Regions from separate parts of the Homo sapiens genome. Here region 1 is linked to region 2. The links are contacts of gene promoters, found by promoter capture Hi-C in blood cells and fetal thymus (Javierre and others, 2016). All regions are on one chromosome and are shown on one strand. Each heading gives the region's core, a stretch centred on a gene start or on the middle of the fragment in contact. The rest is flanking DNA. Distances are from core to core; before and after follow the strand shown. Region 1 overlaps DOCK4 (dedicator of cytokinesis 4). Region 2 holds the start of GPR85 (G protein-coupled receptor 85).

What was found. The method cuts DNA at HindIII sites, captures the fragments that hold promoters and counts their contacts. A CHiCAGO score of 5 or more calls a contact.
Region 1: a fragment that was not itself captured here is called in contact with the fragment with the promoter of GPR85 in region 2 in 1 of 17 cell types (neutrophils); the score reaches 5.3 in neutrophils.

What each region holds. Positions count from the first base shown.
Region 1 is chr7:111,743,668-111,748,405 of GRCh38, forward strand. DOCK4 (dedicator of cytokinesis 4) reads right to left here. Exons shown (of 53, transcript NM_001363540.2): 43 at 3,600-3,776; 44 at 2,667-2,750. Among named protein-coding and RNA genes, the nearest start is that of DOCK4-AS1, 62 kb to the right of the region's middle. The HindIII fragment of the contact is 9,288 bases long and covers 1-4,738 here.
Region 2 is chr7:113,085,321-113,089,593 of GRCh38, forward strand. GPR85 (G protein-coupled receptor 85) reads right to left here and starts at 1,507. Exons shown (of 3, transcript NM_001146267.2): 1 at 1,002-1,507; 2 at 672-789. RefSeq lists a silencer at 1,193-1,252. The HindIII fragment of the contact is 6,967 bases long and covers 1,385-4,273 here.

The sequences.
Region 1 (4,738 bases), core at 884-3,383, 1.3 Mb before region 2:
CATAATGTTTATCAGGGTGTACCTTGGGATTGATGCCTGTCAGGGGGAGGGACAGAAGCCGGACTTGACAAGAAAAGAAGTTGAGCTGCACAGCAGTCCTGTCAGCTACTGCCAAACCCAAGGGACCTCTGGAATGTTCTTAAAAATTTATCTGTATTTTAATCTTTTTAGAGACAGAGTCTCACTCTGCTGCCCAGGAAGGAATGCAGTGGTGTGATCATAGCTCACTGCAACCTCGAACTCCTGGGCTAAGGTGATCCTCCCACCTCAGCCTCCCAAGTAGCTGGGCCTACAGGCATGCACCACCACACCCAGCTAGTTTTTAGGTTTTTGTAGAGATGGGGTCTTGCTATGTTGCCCAGGCTAGTCTTGAACTCCTGGTGTCAGATGATACTCCTACCTCAACCTCTGGACCTTTAATGGTCTGTCAAAGTTGTCCTGTGTTGGTCCCAAATGGCCAGGCTTTCTATTGCTTCCTCAGTATGGGATGTGCACCACTGAGAAGGTAGCAACCTTGGGCCAAGTGGCTCTCTGCAGTGGAGGCAATCCCTGAAGGGCCTGACAGCTGGAGATGTCTGTTGAGAGCCACATTTCCTGCAGCTGAGGCAGAGTAAGTCTGTCCTGGAAGGAGCACTGGGGTGGTGCATGTCTCTGTCCTCTAGAGAGTTTATCTGAACTACTTTGCAGAGGTCCAGAGAAGGATGGTGCCCTCTCCAGTCCACCTCCCCACAGAGATGATGAGACTTGGCCAAGGGCACATTGACAGTCACGTGCACTGCTTGTCTTATAACAGAGATCTCACATTTTCTAGGCCATGGCTCTTTCCACAAGGTTTCAGGAACATAAGCAGGACGTAGAAGAAATAAAGGTTCCCTGGTTTTATTTTTCTTGGCAGTCTTCTTGACCCTGAGCTACCATTTAATTCTGGGGAAATAATTCAGTCAGGCTGAATCCAGCAGATACAGTCCTGGGGTGGAGTGAACCATTCATAAGAGGTAAAACACAGATCTTTAAAAATCAATGAAGGTTAAAGTCATTGCATAATCCTAAGTAATGGATGACCTCAACTGCTCACTTCTAGTATCTACAAACACCCAGAGTCACATTGAGAACTTGACTTATTCTTTATTTCCTTACAGATCAGCTTCAAGTAATTCTTCTCTCTCTTCTGTGGCCACCTCTCTCCCTGTAGTATTAGGTTTTGTGGACTAAGCCTACAGAGCATAAAAGATGGATGAAAACCAGACACGACCTCATTTTCTAATCCAAAGAGCATGCTTTACTTATTAATTTGGCATTATTGGGTAGAAAGAAATGCCTTTGTCATGTTTCATCACACATATTCCACTTTTCACAGGAAGCAAATGTCTTTATTTCCTGTTTAACACAGGCTTCCAACCATGTCTCCTACCTCAGAGGTTTTCAAACCATTTCAGGCTATCAATAGGGACACAGTAGGCAACAGATTACTCATTCCAGTTCTTTGTACTTGATGGTTCCAAATAAATAAACCACGCTTCTCTGGGGGTAGAAAATGATGAGTTGTATGTAGTTTTGTCCATATCATGTAACCTATAGGTTTACTTTGCAAAATATGACACTGCTTTAAAGCAAGATCTACTGATTGCCCACTTCCTTATTACAATGCTTAAGTAAAAATTTCATTCATGCCTCATATTTGGAGTTGGCCTGAACTTTTCTGAGCACAGAATTTTGAGTGAAAAGTTGGCATCGGCCAGGCGCGGTGGCTCACGCCTGTAATCCCAGCACTTTGGGAGGCTGAGGCGGGTGGATCACAAGGTCAGGAGATCGAGACCATCCTGGCTAACACAGTGAAACCCCGTCTCTACTAAAAATGCAAAAAAAATTAGCCAGGTGTGGTGGCGGGCACTTGTGGTCCCAGCTACTTGGGAGGCTGAGGCAGGAGAATGGCGTGAACCCAGGAGGCGGAGCTTGCAGTGAGCAGAGATCATGCCACTGCACTCCAGCCTGGGTGACAGAGGGAGACTCCGTCTTAAAAAAAAAAAAAAAAAAAAAAAAAAAGTTGGCATCAAGCCTACAGCAAGTCTCTAGGAAGAGAACATTCAAAGAATGTTTTAAGAGACCACATGAAGTTGTTTGTTTCACAGGTTGAACATCCCTAATACAAAAACTGAAAATCAGAAATCCTCCAAAATTTGAAGCCTTTTGAATGCCAACATCCCACAAGTGGAAAATTCCACACCCAACCTCACGTGATGGGTTGCAGTCGAAACTTCATGCACAAAATTATTAAAATATTATATAAAATGACCTTCAGGCTATGTGTATAAGATATATATGAAATAATAAATTTTGTTATTTGACTTGGGTCCCTCCCCCAAGATATCTCTTATGTATATGCAAATATTTCAAAATCTGAAACACTTATGGTCCCAAGTATTTTGGATAAAGGATACTCAACCTGTAACTGGCTGCCATAGTCTACTCATTGTTAAATTAATTTTTGCATCGGAGTGGGAAGAAGAAGTAGAAATTAGCAAGCTGGGATATATTACAGGAATCTGTCACCCTTGCTTGCCAGCTTCTGTTAGACCACTGATGCAGGAAACCATGCAGAGGGGGCTCTAGGTAAGCAAGCACATATCCAGGCAAAATAGAAGGGGGTTGGCTTCTGCTTCCCTTACCTGCTCAAGCATCAGCTCTCTTAATCGTGCAATTTTCTCCCCATCTTCAGGGTGACTTAAGATATATTCTTTGACAAAGAATGCCTAGTAAGGGAAAGGAGAATCAGTCTACTTTAGTGGAGTACAAGGCAAGTCAAAGACAAGTTGTTTTTAAAGACCTGGCATCTTTATGGAAATGACACCATTACAAACCACATTTTGGGACAGATGGGCTGATTACTAGTGTAGGTGGTTGGTCAGAATGGGAACATAAGGAAAGAATTGTTAAAGGAAGATCAGTGATTGTACAATAAGTACCCTTGCTAAAATAAAGAACAAGCCCAAATCAGTAAGCTATATGGCTTGTATCCTAAAACAAACTGCCTTAAGATTCAGTGTGACCTAGATGGTGGCCTTACCTTCCAGGGTATTATATCTTTCTGTTTAAGAGAGCAGATGAAAGGTCCACTTAAAGTATCATCTAAGCAAGATCGGTCTTATCTTTTTTTTTTTTTTTTTTTTTTTTTTTAAATAAGAGATAAGATCTTCCTATGTTGCTCAAGCTGGTCTCAAACCAAAGTGCTGGGATTACAGGTGTGAGCCACTGAGCCCAGCCCAGATCAGACTTTTCTATGCCCATGAACTTCTTTGCTTAGAGAAATTATTTTAGACGGATATTTATTAAACAGTCCTAATGTCCTTTCTACTTTTATTCATGCAAGAATGAACACACACACACACATTTTTATTATCCAAATATAACATGTTGGGAAAATGGAGTTACTGGGCAATTACAAATGACTGTATGTTTGCTCTATTTAACAAAGGACTCTGTGTCAATCGCAGCCCTATGTTTGCGTGCTGATATGGGTACATAGTCTGAAAAAAGATTCATGAAACCCTAAGAAGTCACAATTGAAAACTTTCTCTGAAACAACAATACCTAATCCTTACCTCTTGATACCTGGAAACGCCACCATTAACTGCAGCATCTATAACTCCATTCAGGCACATAGTCAGGGGATTAATATTCTGCATCTGTCTTGTCTGACACTGACTAATCAGAGTCTTCAGCTGCTGATTCTTATTTTCTAGCACTTCAATTGCATTTTCCAGAGGACTCATTTCTACCTGAGAAGCAAATGAACATAAATATATATTGAATTTGTGACATTCAAGAAGAAAGACAAAGTAGTTTATCCATGTTCTGAATTATCTGTGCTCCCCCTTGGCTTCCATCAATATCTCTACCAGGGGCCATTCCGTAGAATAGACAAGGATGTGGAAGTCAAGTGGGATGTTCATTAGCAAGGTTTGGAAAGGGCAGGTAATTATACTTATTCATTGAAATGTGGTTTGGATAATCATCAATTCTACATTAGCACTGCAACAACCAATTTAATCCTTAAAATAATATCCAAGCATCTCATGTCTTTTAAAACTAGTTTTTTTTTTCTTTTGAAGGGTTAAATATTCAGAGACCCTGAATATTATCCCCTTTCTCATGCTTATTTGATACAAAGCACCATGGGAGATATAAAGATGCATTTATGGATCCTCTGATGTCAAGGAGCTTTCAGCCCAGTTGGGAAGATGGGACATATGCCACATGAACCTCATATATATATATAACAGCACCATAAGGTGGCACAGGATGGCACACAGTTGGGAATTATAGAAAACAAGATAATATATACTGCAGGATCTATTTGTTGGAGAGCCAAATAGAATCATAATGACTTAAAAATTCCAGGCTGTATGGAGGACCTAATTGTGAAAATGATAAAAGTGCTCTTCAAATGTATGTCATTGGGACTGCTATTGCCTTGAAGAGAAGGTCTGCCAAGCTCTCAGCAATCAAGTAATTCAGGACTACAATTAGCATATTTAAATATTGGTTCATTCAGGCAAGGAAACAAATTAGAGTTTTTAAAGGTCACTTGGATCATCTTAAACCAACACTGAAAAATCCTAGAATATGAAGACTGAACATTCATCAAAGACAAAGAGAAGGGAAGATAAGCAAGAACATAGAAGATTTTGTAACATGTGTAACCATCAAAAAGCACGTGTTCAGGGTATATAAGGATTCT
Region 2 (4,273 bases), core at 257-2,756:
CCGTGCAAAATATATCTTAAGTGCCACTATTCATGCTGCATAAGAGTATTTGTTGATTCATCTTAAAGCAAAATTTCAAAATTAACTTCAAAATTAATAGGAACTTACTTGTCCCAAGATTTGATGTGATTTAATCATTTGTCTTTCCCTCTCCACCCTACCCCCCATTTCTGGCAAATCTTTTAAGCCCACATGATTATTAAAATGGTTAATGTAAATATTGGACAGGGAAACACACCCAGAGGAATAATGCACTTCCATTTGTAAACCTTGGCTGCCTGGATTCAAATGAATATAACATGAACCTGTATTTCTTGGGCAATTAAGCCTTTCCCATTTACACTGATAACCTTTGTTGCAAATCACAAGTGGCTGCTTTTTAAAACAAAATGCACATTGTCTCGCAGGTGCCTGGACCACACCAGGGAAATCGGCTTCCTCTGTTATTCCCACCAAGCGTGTTTCTTTTGCCACTTCTCACTGGCCCGGAATATGCTGGTGGAAGCCCAGGCAAAACTGCGTTCGATGATTTTAATTTCCCCACCGGTACATCCTCGGGTAAATACCGATCGCATCATGCAACATTACGAAACCTGAAATCCGCCACCCCTGGATTTATAATGGGGGGAGGGTGGAGGAGGGGGAGAGGGAGAGAGACATGCATTACATACGCGAAGATGGGGAGAGAGATTGCTTCTGTGCTGCAAAGGAACCGTTCCCGGTGATTCGCAGTCTGATATTCCTCAGTCTTGTAAGGCTTTCCAGAAATGGAGCTCTCAGTAAGCCCTACTGAAGATGCATTGTCTGAATGTACTTCCATTATGCAGTTTATTGTCACAAAACACATACACACACACACACACACACACACACAGAGACACACACACACACACACACACACACAACCTGAGGGAGGGCTCTTTCTCGGTGAACCTGCAGTTTCATCAACACTGTGCATTCCCCCACATCCCCCAAACTTAACCAAGAGTATATCCTCCTACCTGTTGGTGTTGGATATCCCGACAGACTATAGCTTCTTTCTATAAATTGCTGATTTTTTTCTTTTTTTCTTTTTCTTTTTTTTTTTTTTTTTTTTGTTTTTTGTTTTTTTTTTTTTTTTTTTTGCCTTAGTGCCTTGACTGAGCATCCAGGCAGGGCTCGGCGGCGCCTGCGCGCTGGAGCCTCCTTGAGCTCCAGCCGCGTCCTCCCCTGTCGCAGCGGCACCGTCTCCCCCAGTAACGCAGGGGCCGCGGCGGCGGCGGCTGCGGTGGCGAGGGCGGCGGCGGGGCTGCTTCAGCCTCTGTGGAACCAGCAGGAACCCCTACCTGACTCCAGAGCTGGCTGGGTTTATTGACTGCCCTGTCCAATCCAACTGGCAGCATTAAGCTTTTGTCCCTTCGTGGCTGCTTCTGAACTTTTCCCTCCCCGCATTTGTAGTGGGGGGCTGGAAAGGCCCTTTCAGGACCTCAGGCCCATCCTCTTCCCAAAGGCAGCGCACGAGGAAGTCACAGTGCCCGTGACGCCCGCCCCCTCCCTCAGCTTCCCGGAACCCTAACCTTCCCCAGACACTTTCTTCCCTTTTCTTTTAGGGTGGTCCAAACCACCGGAGGCTTCTTTTATATATTTATTTTTAAGTGATGTCTCCAGCTAACCTTTAAATTTGCAGGTTAGCTGGAAAAAGACAAGAAAAGAATGGGAAAAAAGAAAAAAAGTTATTTATTTATTTATTTATCTTTTTCCCACAGTTAAAAATCTTTTCAATGGGGAAGAAGGGAAGGCACGTTAGGGCAGCTCTCTCTTTGTTAGTCATCTTCTATTCTCCAATGCACGCAAATATGCGTAAAAGTAGGGAGAAAGCTAAGTTCAGAGGACAACTACAATATGATTTACATTCAGTCTACCTTAAAGGATGTCACTAAAGAATCAGGCTTATAAAATGTTTAAATGGCTATTCCTGGCATTCCACCCCACCAAGCAACAGTATTCCTTTTCCCTTCTTACAAGTTCCGCTGACCAATGATGGGTGATGTCAAAGCAGTTATGTGTACGAGTTTCCTTTTTTCCCCTTTGTTATTACAGATGAAAAATACTAGAAATATAACAAATACGTAAAACTTACACCAGTCCAAACGGTCGGATGATACCACAGACACCACAAAGCCTGACACGTGGGTGCTTAGGAATGCCTCTAGAATCATGCATTTTCTTATTTTACCATTTCCGAAGAGTTTTGTTTGTGGAGGTGATATAAAATTTTAAGCAACAACTTCCCAGTTCTCCTACCCAAAACTAGCAGACACGCTTTCATTAATTCCCAATGTAAAACGTCTGCTTCTTTTTCTGCATGCTTTTTGCTTTATAATAATCTGTTAATGAAACAAAAAATAAAAATCTTCTCTACAGTAATAATCTGATCTTGAGACAGCAGTAAAATACCTCATTGCTGGGTGGTGAGATTGTGACATTCAGGGGAACTCAGGCCAATCAGCATACAGATAATATGGGTTAATTTACATACTGTATTTCTATTGGATGAGCCGAGGTAAAGCCTTATCTTGATGTCACAGTCGTTACACAAAGCCCTATGTTGGTAATACTGAAATGATGTTAAATTTCCCTGATTTGTTCTTGAATTTCCTACGTCCATTTAAATACATGGATAATAGTTTGTTTTTTTCGAAAAGAATATACACAAGGCACTAAACTTTGGCATTCCCTTAACCTAGAAAAATCAATCCTACAGCCATGCTGGAAGTAACTTGAGGGCATTTCCATTCAAATAAAACATTCCACTTTTTGCAAAGCAAATGAATTCAAAACTCAAAACCATGTGGTGGTTTGCAACTTCTAAGTAAAATGTCAAATTCGTTTTTATGAAACTACAAATCACTTCAACTTGTGCTTTTTTGCTTCCCAATAAATGCTTCAATGTACTTTGCAAAGAGTTATTTCCTGAATTTTTACAGTTTTAAAAAATGTATGGAATAAGAGGCTTAAGTTTGCTGAAGATTCATGATTGGTCAGATGTTAGGTTGTACAGATTAGGGAAAAGCTATTTTAAAGTAAATTAAAAGAGTCACTGCACTGCCAGGCCATGAAGCAGTAATATACTCTGCCAAAAGTTATAGGGCCAAGATCCAAGGGTTTTAACTAGTCTTATTCTTTAAGCAGATATTGATTCCTTAAAAATAAGGGAGAGGGTATATGTGTATGCAATATTCTTTCATATCCACATCTCAGGGTATAGTAAAGCTATTTTTTTCCTTTGCAGTTGAGCACAGTTACATCCACTAATTCTTCAGCTTTTCCAGCTGTTGGATAAGAATGTCATTTTCTTGCCTCACAAGGGGACTCAAGAAATTAATGAGATATTTTCTATCTAGCTCATTAACTCTACTGGAGAAAACATTGGAAGCTACATCTTTCATCAGCAGGGCTTTAAAAAATATGTTTAATAGCTGACAAAAGTTTCATATCATCTACAAGTTCTCAAATGTAAAGTTATTGCTTCAAATTGTTTAGATCATAGGCTTAGTTGGTCTTAACTAATTTCTTTTTTTTTTATCCCCTACATCACCAAACCCAGAAAATTTGATTTTCAGGTTAAGAGTAAAAGAACAAAGCAAATACAACAAAACTATATGCTCTAATCCTTGGGTTTGAAGGGTTCTGAAGATTTACAAACTGTTGGAATATTACATGTACTATATTGATCAGTGTATTAGGAAAACTGATATAATTTGCTTAATTTGGTTCTTATAAAAAGTACATACCATTTTATTTTAAAAACCAATGACCTTGCTTTCAAAATTAATCTATTTCAGATTTTTGCCAACTGATGCATAGTATCATGATCAGCAAAAACAGTGTTTTTTTCTGTGCATTGTTTACATGAAAGTGTGTGTCAGGAAATAACACTTGGTAATTGCAGAGAATAATAGACTAGAATAAACATTCTAAATAAAAGATTTTTAGTAATTCATTTCAAATGACATGTCTTCTGCTTAAAGCATAAAACGTGTGTCTTTGGTGCTCTCAACTGTTACCAAAATTTAAAGTTGTATATGAAAAAGAGCCTTTTTAAAGTTTTCTTTAAAACTTTAACTATCTTTTTGATGGGGTTGTTTGTTTTTTTCTTGTAAATTTGTTTGAGCTCATTGTAGATTCTGGATATTAGCCCTTTGTCAGATGAGTAGGTTGCGAAAATTTTCTCCCATTTTGTAGGTTGCCTGTTCACTCTGATGGTAGTGTCTTTTGCTGTGCAGAAGCTCTT